2 separate regions of the Homo sapiens genome follow, and region 1 is linked to region 2. The links are contacts of gene promoters, found by promoter capture Hi-C in blood cells and fetal thymus (Javierre and others, 2016). All regions are on one chromosome and are shown on one strand. The core of a region is centred on a gene start or on the middle of the fragment in contact, and the rest is flanking DNA. Distances in the headings are between cores, read along the strand shown. Region 1 overlaps DIP2A (disco interacting protein 2 homolog A). Region 2 holds the start of S100B (S100 calcium binding protein B).

The links. Contacts are between HindIII fragments. The CHiCAGO score rates a contact against its expected background, and 5 or more counts as called.
Region 1: a contact is called between a fragment that was not itself captured here and the fragment with the promoter of S100B in region 2, in 2 of 17 cell types (naive CD8 T cells and naive CD4 T cells). The highest score is 5.7, in naive CD8 T cells.

Annotation. Positions count from the first base shown.
Region 1 is chr21:46,551,473-46,556,730 of GRCh38, forward strand. DIP2A (disco interacting protein 2 homolog A) reads left to right here. Exons shown (of 38, transcript NM_015151.4): 24 at 162-271; 25 at 352-432; 26 at 2,697-2,820; 27 at 3,103-3,224; 28 at 3,350-3,461; 29 at 4,510-4,619. Among named protein-coding and RNA genes, the nearest start is that of S100B, 51 kb to the right of the region's middle. The HindIII fragment of the contact is 624 bases long and covers 1,092-1,715 here.
Region 2 is chr21:46,601,597-46,606,598 of GRCh38, forward strand. It overlaps S100B (S100 calcium binding protein B), which reads right to left and starts at 3,486. Exons shown (of 3, transcript NM_006272.3): 1 at 3,417-3,486; 2 at 682-820. The coding sequence starts at 819. RefSeq lists an enhancer at 4,524-5,002. The HindIII fragment of the contact is 9,714 bases long and covers 359-5,002 here.

The DNA.
Region 1 (5,258 bases), core at 154-2,653, 52 kb before region 2:
AGCATAAACCTTGTAGCTAGCTTTCTGAATATTTGTATCTCAGTAGAAGAGTTAAATGCCTCATTCAAGTATGTTTTCAAAATAAAAATTGTAAATAAAATCACGTGATGTTTATATATGAGAAGTCACCAGCTTTTCATTCAGAGTTCCCCCGTTTCTAGAGGTTGGACCAGCCTCAATGATCGTGGGGAACCTGGTTGCTGGGAAGAGAATCGCTCAGGCTTCCGGGAGAGAGCTCGCCCACCTGGAGGACAGCGACCAGGCACGGAAGGTGACAGGCCAGTTCCGGGGACGGGTGGACGGGTGTCTGTGCCCCGGAGGCGCCAGTGAGCAAGTCGCCCTCTCGTGCAGTTCCTGTTCCTGGCTGACGTGCTGCAGTGGCGTGCCCACACCACTCCTGACCACCCGCTGTTCTTGCTGCTGAACGCCAAGGTGAGGCAGTGTCACGCCCACGGGGCTTGGAAACACCTGTGGGCCGGTGGAGCCCTTTGCTTGTCTAGTTCATGGTGCCAGTGTCCTGGTTGTTCTCATGTTTAGAGAACAGGGTGCCTGTGGACTCAGCCCCCGTCCTGGTTGTTCTCATGCGTAGAGAGCAGGGTGCCTGTGGACTCAGCCCCCTTGTCTGGTGCGGTTCTCGCTGCCTGCCCTTTCCTTTCTTGTTTTCCACACATTTCACACAATAGTATTTCTATTGATTTTGTGTTTAGCAGGAAAATTTTTATCAGCTCAAGTTTTTAAAATTAAAAACAGTATACATGTAAATATTCCTAAGTTTGTGAGCTAAAAGGAAATGTTTATTTTGTAAAAAATTAGCCATTTAGAATTTCTACATTTGGTTACAGCTTTTAAATGACAAATGTTGCTTCCTGCCCTGCTCCTGCTGCTGATTTGGAAATTCTCATGTGTTTCAAGTTCCTGTTGTGTGCATTCCACTGTGCTAGGAACATTCAGGATGTCAAGAAGGAGAAGCTGTAATCTTCATATTCAGGTTGTGGGCAGGAATGCGAAATGCGGAAACACAGAAAGTTAAATAACTTAAAACCCTGCAAGGCTTCCTGTCCCACGCACCATACAAGCTGTAAGAACTCTTAAGCTTTGGTGTCGTAAAGAGTAGGTCACTGTGGCTTAGAATATGCTCTTCTAGCTCTTGGTGCTGCTCATTCGAATTAAAAAAATACTTAATGATGCCTACAATGTGCACAGTGCACAGTAATAAGATTAAAAGGACCCCTACTCTCAGGAGGCTTAAAATCAGTCTTTCCTGCTAGAAAACAAGTTCCGTAGGAGAGAGACTTTGTTTTTCTGGTGTATTGGAAGCATCTAGAACCATGCCCAGTAAACATTTATTTTATGATTGATTGAGTTCTAAAGCCTACAAACCAGCCAGTGATTTATCATTGACCAAGGTAAAATCAGCTTATGGTGTGAACCTCAGTATCAATACAGTGGAGTGATGTAACCTGGAGTGCTGGGGAGGGGGCTTTGAATGGAACTGGGTAGCAGGGGCTATGAAGAATGATGCCCAGTGGCTCAAGGCAGGAAAGGAGGCCAGTGTGGTGGGGGCCAGGTGGTCCCAGGTAGGGGATGCAGATAAGGCTGGGGGTCGCTGGGTTTTCCCTAAGGATGCAGTGGGATCCCAGACCTTGCGGGCTTTGAGTCCCAGTCCAGATCTCAGGTTCTGTCCTGATGGGGCCCTGACTCATATGGACTGGCAAAGCTTCCGGGATTTGGAATCTCAGGATCTGCCCAGCCCTTGTGCCTGGACACAGCACATAAGTGCGTCCACTGGTCTCTCTCTTCCACTGCCTTCTGTCAGTAGAAGCCACCAATCGAGAAACAGGGAGTTTTGATGTTACACTGGTCTGCTCTGGAGTTTTATATTTATTAGACTGAATTGCACTTTTTATCTTCTTAAGAAGGACTAAAAAAGCTGCGAGGCCTGGCAGGGGATCAGGGAGGATGAGTGTCCTGAGCAGAGAGGTAGGGTTACCAGGTATTTCTGTTTGCCTTGAACTGGTCACATAGCCCCAGTGCCCCTCAGCAGAGAGACAGGGTGAATGAAGGAGCTGGTGTAGTCAGTCCTAGAGGAGACACACAGATGCCTCTGAGAAAGCCGGTTGCAGATGACACACGCCCAGGCTCAGTGCAGGTGACCTGTGGGCATGGAAAGTAGTACAATTCAGGGATGTTTGCTTATCGCTTATTATGTATTTATAATGGTGTCGTATGGAATATTTTATTGAAAAGGCCAGAAAGGTCTTCTTTACCCACGTGTTTCTGGCTCTGCCCTGGGTGAATGGAGTGCCCGCATCTCTCCCTCTTAGCTGGGACCACACAGGAGATACTTGCATGCCTGTCCCTTCACTGCTAGTGAGAGAGTACAGATGGTGAGAAAAGACACCAGTCGTGGACCATGTGCGGTGGCTTATGCCTGTAATCCCAGCACTTTGAGAGGCTGAGGCGGGCAGATCACTTGAGGTCAGGAGTTCGAGACCAGCCTGGCCAACATGGTGAAACCCCATCTCTACCAAAAAAAAGACACCAGCCGTACGTCTAGGACTGACACATTGTCATTATCATGGACGCTAATCACAAGGTGTCGTGTGCAGTGGCGTGCAGGTGGTGTGCACGCAGATCTGCGAACAGCCCACCTGCACGCACCAGCATACAGATGAGCTCAAAGATCGCTTTCCTAGGGCACCGTCACAAGCACTGCAACCTGTGTCCAGCTGCACAAAAGGGCTGAGAGAGTGGCCGCGGCTCTGATGGAGAAGGGAAGACTGAGTGTTGGGGACCATGTGGCTCTGGTCTACCCACCAGGTGGGCTCACTGTGGGGCTGTCCACCTGCAGCTCTTTGTAAGCAGCCTCCTATCCTAAGCAGCCCCCTAGACACTCCCTCCCCGAAGCATCTTCCAAAACTAAGCTCAGCCCCTCCTCTCTGCATGTGTCTGCCTCCTCAGCTCAGCTACCCCTGTGGAAACCCAGGAGTCACCCATGCCCCCCCAGCACCACCTCCCCTCCTCTCTCGCAGGAACAGTGAACAGAGGCTGGTGGGAGCCTCTTGCGGCCGGCCTCCTCACAGCCAGTCCTTGTCTCCACAGGGGTGGACCTCATTGCCGCGTTCTATGGCTGCTTGTACTGTGGCTGCGTGCCTGTCACCGTGCGGCCCCCGCACCCTCAGAACCTCGGCACCACACTGCCCACCGTCAAGATGATCGTGGAGGTGCGCCTACCTGGCCCGCGGGTCAGAGTCTGTGAGTGGGAGGCTGCAAGGCTGCCCTCCGCTGCCCCCTTTTCTGGGCAGCTTGAGAGGCCCCGCCCACCCACCCTTGGCCCCTCGCCATGCAGGTCAGCAAGTCTGCATGCGTCCTCACCACGCAGGCTGTCACACGGCTGCTCAGGTCCAAGGAGGCTGCTGCTGCCGTGGACATCAGGACCTGGCCCACCATCCTAGACACAGGTGCGTGTCCTCGCACTGCCCAGGACCAGTCCCTTTTCCTTTCTTTGTTGTAGGTGTGGTGTGGCCTGGCTGCCGTCCAAAAACACACGTGAGGCAAGAGCAGTCCTGGCAGGAGCCTGGCTGACAGCAGGGGGTGCCCCGGGCCCTGGTGGGGAGTAGGGGTCCCTGTCCCATGTGTAAACCCACGCTCCACTCAGCCCACAGCAGCCGCACCCAGTCCCAAGTGGTGTGGAGCACAGCCTTGCCCCTCTCACCCGCCTCCTACTGGCATGGGGGCTGGCAGCTCTCTGAGGCTTTCTGCAAACGCTTTGAGGACACAGCTCCCACCGCATGCCGCCACTCCAGCATCCCTGTCCCCATCATTGGTGAATGCTGTCATGCCCCATGAAATGCTGAGGGCCAACAGGGTGAGGGTCAGAAACCCCCCTGGCTCCCCTCTGCCGTGGACCTGTCTCAGCCTGGGCTGGATGGGGCTGGGCCAGGGCAGCTGGTGTAGGGGAGGGCAGGCTCAGAGCCAAACAGCTGGCCAGGGCCCCAAAGCCTCACGGGCTTGCCTCAAGGGGAGCGGTGCCTGCCCTGCTGAGCCTGTGTCCAGTTGCACCCAGGGAGGCAGTGGTGTCTGGCTCATGGGGCCACGAGAACTTGATGAAGCACGCAGAACCCAGAGCCCGTCCACAGCTATTCTTGCTGTGGTCGGGACTCGGCTCATCTGGGCTTTGCCATAGGCTCTGTGACTTTTGGCAAATCCCTAGTCCTCTAATCTTTCCTACTGGTCAGTGACGTGATGCCTCCCCTCTTCGCCCTGCCTCGTCCCCCATCCCCACAGGCTCAGTGTGGTCTTGGTGGGACCGGGTAGCGTTTCCATGAAGAATGAAATACGCTTTCCTGAGCACGCACAGCCTGCATCGTCACGGCCCCACTCCCGTCTGAGCTCACTCTCTGCAGGACTCCCAAGGACAAATCATGTGTCGCCTCTTGCCTGTGAAAGCCCAGAGCGTTCAGAATACATGTGGGAACACTAATGTTGCTGGTGTCTCCTGTTTAACAGATGACATCCCAAAAAAGAAGATAGCAAGCGTTTTCAGGCCCCCCTCCCCCGATGTCCTCGCATACTTGGACTTCAGCGTGTCAACCACTGGGATATTAGCGGGAGTGAAGGTAGGTCCTCTGAAATCTTGTTTGCTTCAGCCCCTAGAAATCAGGAGGAGTGGACAGAAAGGATGTCAGATGCAGATTTAAACTGACAGGTCCTTCTTATGCAAAGCACAAAGCAACAATTTTGCTTCTTAAGATTTGTGTTAAATACCAATAAATGCTAAGATGTGATTAGCCTGAGAGTAATGCGTTTTCTGATGCATTATGGTTATGTCTAAACTTTCTGATTTATGACTGTCTAGCTTACAGGAACTGGTGGCTTTGAAGAATCTCTTACCTTGCTGGGAGTCAATAGCTCAATTAAAATTTTTCAGGCGGGGCGTGGTGGCTCACGCCTGTAATCCCAGCACTTCGGGAGGCCGAGGCGGGTGGATCACAAGATCAAGAGATGGAGACCATCCTGGCCAACGTGGTGAAACCCCGTCTCTACTAAAAATACAAAAAATTAGCTGGGCATGGTGGCAGGTGCCTCTAATCCCAGATACTCAGGAGGCTGAGGCAGGAGAATTGCTTGAACCCGGGAGGCAGAGGTTGCAGTGAGCCGAGATTGTGCCATTGCACTCCAGCCTGGGCGACAGAGCAAGACTCTGCCTCAAAAAAAAAAAAAAGAAAAAAATTTTAAAAATTCATTACCCTGAAATT
Region 2 (5,002 bases), core at 2,236-4,735:
AGAACAGGGCTTGCCAGGAGCCCCCACACAGCTTCCTAAAGTAGGGGCCCCAACTAAAGACAGTTCCTCACCAATATCCGTTACTCCACAGAGCCTCCTGCAAAGCCCCAGGGCTTCCAAAGGATGTGTACAGACCCCTGTCACGTCCTCAGTTAAGCCAGTCATGGTCATTCATCCATGTGCCAGGCTGGGTGCCCCAGAGCAGAAGCCATGTCTGTCGTGCCTGCATATCTCACAGTTCTTAATTAGTGCTCAGTCAGTGTTTACTGAGTGAAAGTCTGGCATATCTTATCTCCATAGCAAATACTAAACTTCTAGCTAAAGCCAAAATATATCCTTTTCCTAAAAACATTCCCAAAGCTTATTTTTAACAGTTTCCTTTTATGTTCCCTTTGGTCCATGGTAAGTAATGAGTCTAGCATTATTTGGGACGCTTTGGCCTTTGGGACCTTGATGCACCTACTGTACACAAGATGGTTGATAAGGAAATGAAAACAAGGGGCTCATTTGAGCCAGCCCCACACTGAGGGTTCCGTTACTCAAACAAGTTTGCAGAAGCAGCCCAGGAGTCTTGGAAGGGAAATGAAATCACCTTCAGGGCAGCTGAGAAGATAAAGCCAGTGTACAGATGGATTTTAAGAGGAGATGGAGAAAGTGTCAAGTTTAAAAAGCAAGACTCACCTCTAAGAAATGGGAAAGCTCATTGTTGATGAGCTCCTTCAGTTCGGATTTCTTCAGCTTGTGCTTGTCTCCCTCCCTTCCAGAATATTGGTGGAAAACGTCGATGAGGGCCACCATGGCCTTCTCCAGCTCAGACATCCTAGGGGCTCGCAAAGGAAAGTTGCCTTCTCATCTATACCTCATCCTAAAACATTTCATATGTTATCAATACAGACCTCAACCCAGACAAGGGGGATGGAATGGCCTTGGCACTCTTTTCAAGCTCAGAGCAGCAGGCATGGCCTGGAGGGGCATTCTGGGAATTTGCACTTTTATCATAATCCTTCCACCGGCCTCTTAGACAGCTGTGGGCCTGCCTTCTCTGTCCGTGTGGGCCACGGGGATATATTCCCATGCCCTCTGAATTCTGGCTGGGTTGGGCCAACAGGGAAACTGGCAAAAATACAGAGGCAGAGCAGCAAGGGAATTCAGGGATTAATTTCCCCTGAATTAATCCCCACAGGGTCCCTCTCTGTTCCTGCAAGGCTCCAAGATGAGGTGGTAGAGTGCAGGTGAGCAAACCATCAACTGCAAGCTGTTAAAATCAATCTGAAAGTGAGACAGTGACTAGGAGCAAAATAAGAAGACAAAAAATCAATAGCATTCCTATATTCTATCAGTAAAGAAGTAGAAAATACAGTGCAAAATATCCTATGCATATAGCAATAACATGTGATCTAAGACTAAGTTTAGGAAGAAAAACGTAGGTCCTTCCAAGAGATTCTGAGGAACATAAAATGTAGGAAGTTTTTCCTTTAAATTCATATGTAAATTTAAATCATTTTTAATAAAAACAATGGAATTTTTTTGGATGGGTGACATGACAAAAACAGCTGTAAAATTCATCAGGAAAAATAAATATGGTAGAATTGCCGCAATCTTTTTGAAGAATAACAGTGAAAGTTATTTGATCTACCAGGAAAAAAAAATGTATCCTAAGTTTAACTGATCAAATGGGTGTGGTTCTGTCGCAGGGAGGGACAGAATCCAGCAGAAAGCTGAGCTGCTGAGCCTGCATTCCACCTCCAGTGTACCGAAAGGGTGGCTCATTCACTGCAGTGACTGGGACGGCGGGAGGGGGTGGGGGCAGGAATAGGTGTTTCTCTGCAGCTGTCAAAGTAAGAGCCCCCCTACCTCCCTCACAGCAAGTACCTTACGCCACAGCCTACGAACCAAGGAAATATCTGGTCAGTCTGGGAATGAGGCGCATTTTACAAAGGTTGCCTTGTCAGTTGTTTCACAAAACAGATGCGCAGTCAGAGAAATTTACCAGCTTTTGGCCTTGAGTTCTAATCATTAAATAAGAACGTTTGCGCTGTCATAATTAAAAACAAATTAATAAATCAAATAGTGTTGAAAAATCATTCCCATGTTGAATATATAACTTACATCTTAAAAATAATTTGGAATTATTTTATTTATTTCTGATCCTCCGAAGGAAACAGGATTGAAGATTTTTTTATACTGGCCAGATCTTTGCTAAAGTCATTCTATTAATAATCAGTGTACTTTATTTTGCTCTTGAGTCCCTAAAAATTTGATAATTCACAAATAGAACAATTAAGATGGATTAAAATCTTTAACATTTCATGCTTTCTTATTCTTTGCACTCAAGTTTTCAATTATTGATATATGCATGTTTGTATGTGTGTGTATTTTTTTAAACAAAACAAGACACTTTTACATCATTCTGATGCTCCTCAAAGTCCATGATGATTTGGGGAAAAGGAGGTTAAATTGTTTTTCTATGAATTGTGACTAATGGGATTATTACAAAGGAAAGGCATAAAACATGTATCCCATATATTAGAACACTAATAGAAACCACTAGAAAATATGGTTTTCTTCATAACCACACTACAAATCAATTAAATTCTTGTTAAATTTTTCCCTTTGACCTAAGAAATAGTTGATGGTTTATAGTTTATCTTTTAAGAGAAATGGAAATAAATGTCCGTTTCTTTCTCACATTCTTTGAATGTCCTACATTAATCTTTTAATATTGAGAACAAGAGAACTTTTGAACTTTAACTCCTTAGAAAGACAAGTTACCTAGCGTGTGAGGATCCCTCTAAAGAAGGGGTTCGACCTCCCTGAGAAACTGTGAGACTGAGGAAAGTTAAAACCCACCAAAACCCCGATTTCTTTGACCCAATTTATTTGTAATTGTTACGTAATTTCTGAGTGGCGTCCTGGGGCTGTGGGGACCCTGGCACTTCAAACTGAGGGAAACTGGAAAACTGAAGAGTTACTTACCCAGGGCGGTGGAAGAAATATAAGGAGAAAAGGGAAGCATTTATTTATGATATAGGACTAAACTAGCATTAGGTTCTCCATCATTTTTAGCCCCAGTGGGAAGCAAAATCTTTACTCTTCAAATAGTTACAGAAGAGGCAGTATTTGTAGTACCGCTGGGAAAATGTCAACAATCACTTCTGGGCCATGAAACCTGACGTTTCTCTGATTTATGGCAAAACACACCTCTAGCTGTCTAGGGCTGATGCAGTCAGGTGTCCACAAAGCAGCAGTAATGTGGAGATTAAAACACATCATCCTATTGACACTTCTGAAATGCTGCCAATTGTCCTAAAGGGGCTTTTTAAGCTACCACTTAGTTTCTACCCCTCCATTCCGTTCCACCCAAAAGAAAAGAACCATTTCTTCCTGAGCGTCCTCTTGGCCTGGCTCTTTCTCACCTCTTCCTTGTCTCACCCCTTCCTGGTCTCCTTGCTGCAGGCGTCGTCTCTGCTGCGGGTCCTGGGCGGCAGGACTGGTGGGCAGAGGCAGCCTCTTATTCCCTCTGCCCAGGGAGGATGGATGAACCCTGGTGCAGCCCACTGCAGGCCGTGGCAGCCAATGGGAGCCGAAGGCGGGGGTGGCAGGGCTGCCAGGCCTGCACACAGGGCTGCATTGACCAAGCAGCCCCGGGGACTTGCTGGGAGCCAGGATTGCACATGGGCTGAGGAAGAAAAAAGGGCCTGTAGGGCAGGAAGTGGGGAGTCAGCTTTTTGTGCGATTTCTTTATTACATGAATATTGATGTCACCCTAAAGGCAAGGTTGGGGGTGGGGAGAGGAGAGAGACTTGGATTAATTGATTCAAACAAAGCAAATGTGCAGCCAAGAACAAGCAGCTTCCAAGTACAGGCTGAGCATAGGAGATTAAGTGGCCTGCAAGTTGGTTTCTAATGGAGAGGCCCCTGGAGCTTCTCTCCTCTGCCATCCTCCAAGTCTGGCCCCACTGGGCGTGAAGTTCTGTGGACAGTAGTGCTTGTCTGTGGTCAGCCCTGGGCTCAACGGGGCTGCCTCAGAGAAGCTGCTGAGGCCAGTGTCTGCAGGGACTAAAACGGGTGGTACTTTTAGGGGAAAACGTGATGTGTGGACTGTATCCCAAGGCCTTTCCCTCCACCCCAGGGTGGAAGGTCACAGACTCTCAGAGTTGGACGATGCCTTAGAGATGTCCCGTTCGAACGCTGTTTTACAGAGGCGTGTGGACGGTGTGCCCCCTTGCTGAAGCCTCCAGCCAGCCTGAGGAAGGAGAAGTCCAGCTGTCCCCTCAACTCGCTCGACTGGAGCCTCTGAACACGGGGGCCAGTTTATGGGTTCTTCTTCACAAGAATGAAGAAGTAGGTGTTCCTTCTGACAAATTACACAAGAACATTGGCCCAAACTCTCCAAAAATGTCCATGGTCCCCAATGGATGCCTGACCCAGCATCACGTCCTTCTCCCAACCCAGTTTCAAAGTGGCCGTGAAAGGGTTTCCCACAAGATATCTGTGTACATGGCTGTCTTGCTGTCATTGTTTTATCCAGGACGTTCTCTACCATTCAGGATCTGTAAGTGTGCCCTGGAAATAGCACAGGGCTGAGAGCTGTGGTCTTGCGTGGCTCAGCCTGCCCCAGCCTCCTGTGAGGAACAGCCTGAGCAGTGTGGTTGGCCCTCACTTCCTCATCGGCTTCACCACCCCTGGCTGTGGTCTCTGCTGAAGGATCTGACACAGGCTTGCTCTGTGAAGCACAGAGCTTGCCCAGGCCCAAGGAAGGCACAACTGTGCTCTGTGCCCCTTCCTCGCTCAGATGTTGGAGGGACCATTCCTGTAAGTGCTGACCACTTCCCCAGAGTGGCAGCCTGAGCTCTGGATTAACCCTTCAGTGTCCATAGAAAACGCTCTAGCCTGCTCCTGCAGGGGTTAAAAATAGTTTGAAATCCACTCATGCAATGACCGTACACCTGTGCTTAGGGCACTGCGTTCAGCAGGAGGGCCCAGCCGGGCCTGCCCTCTG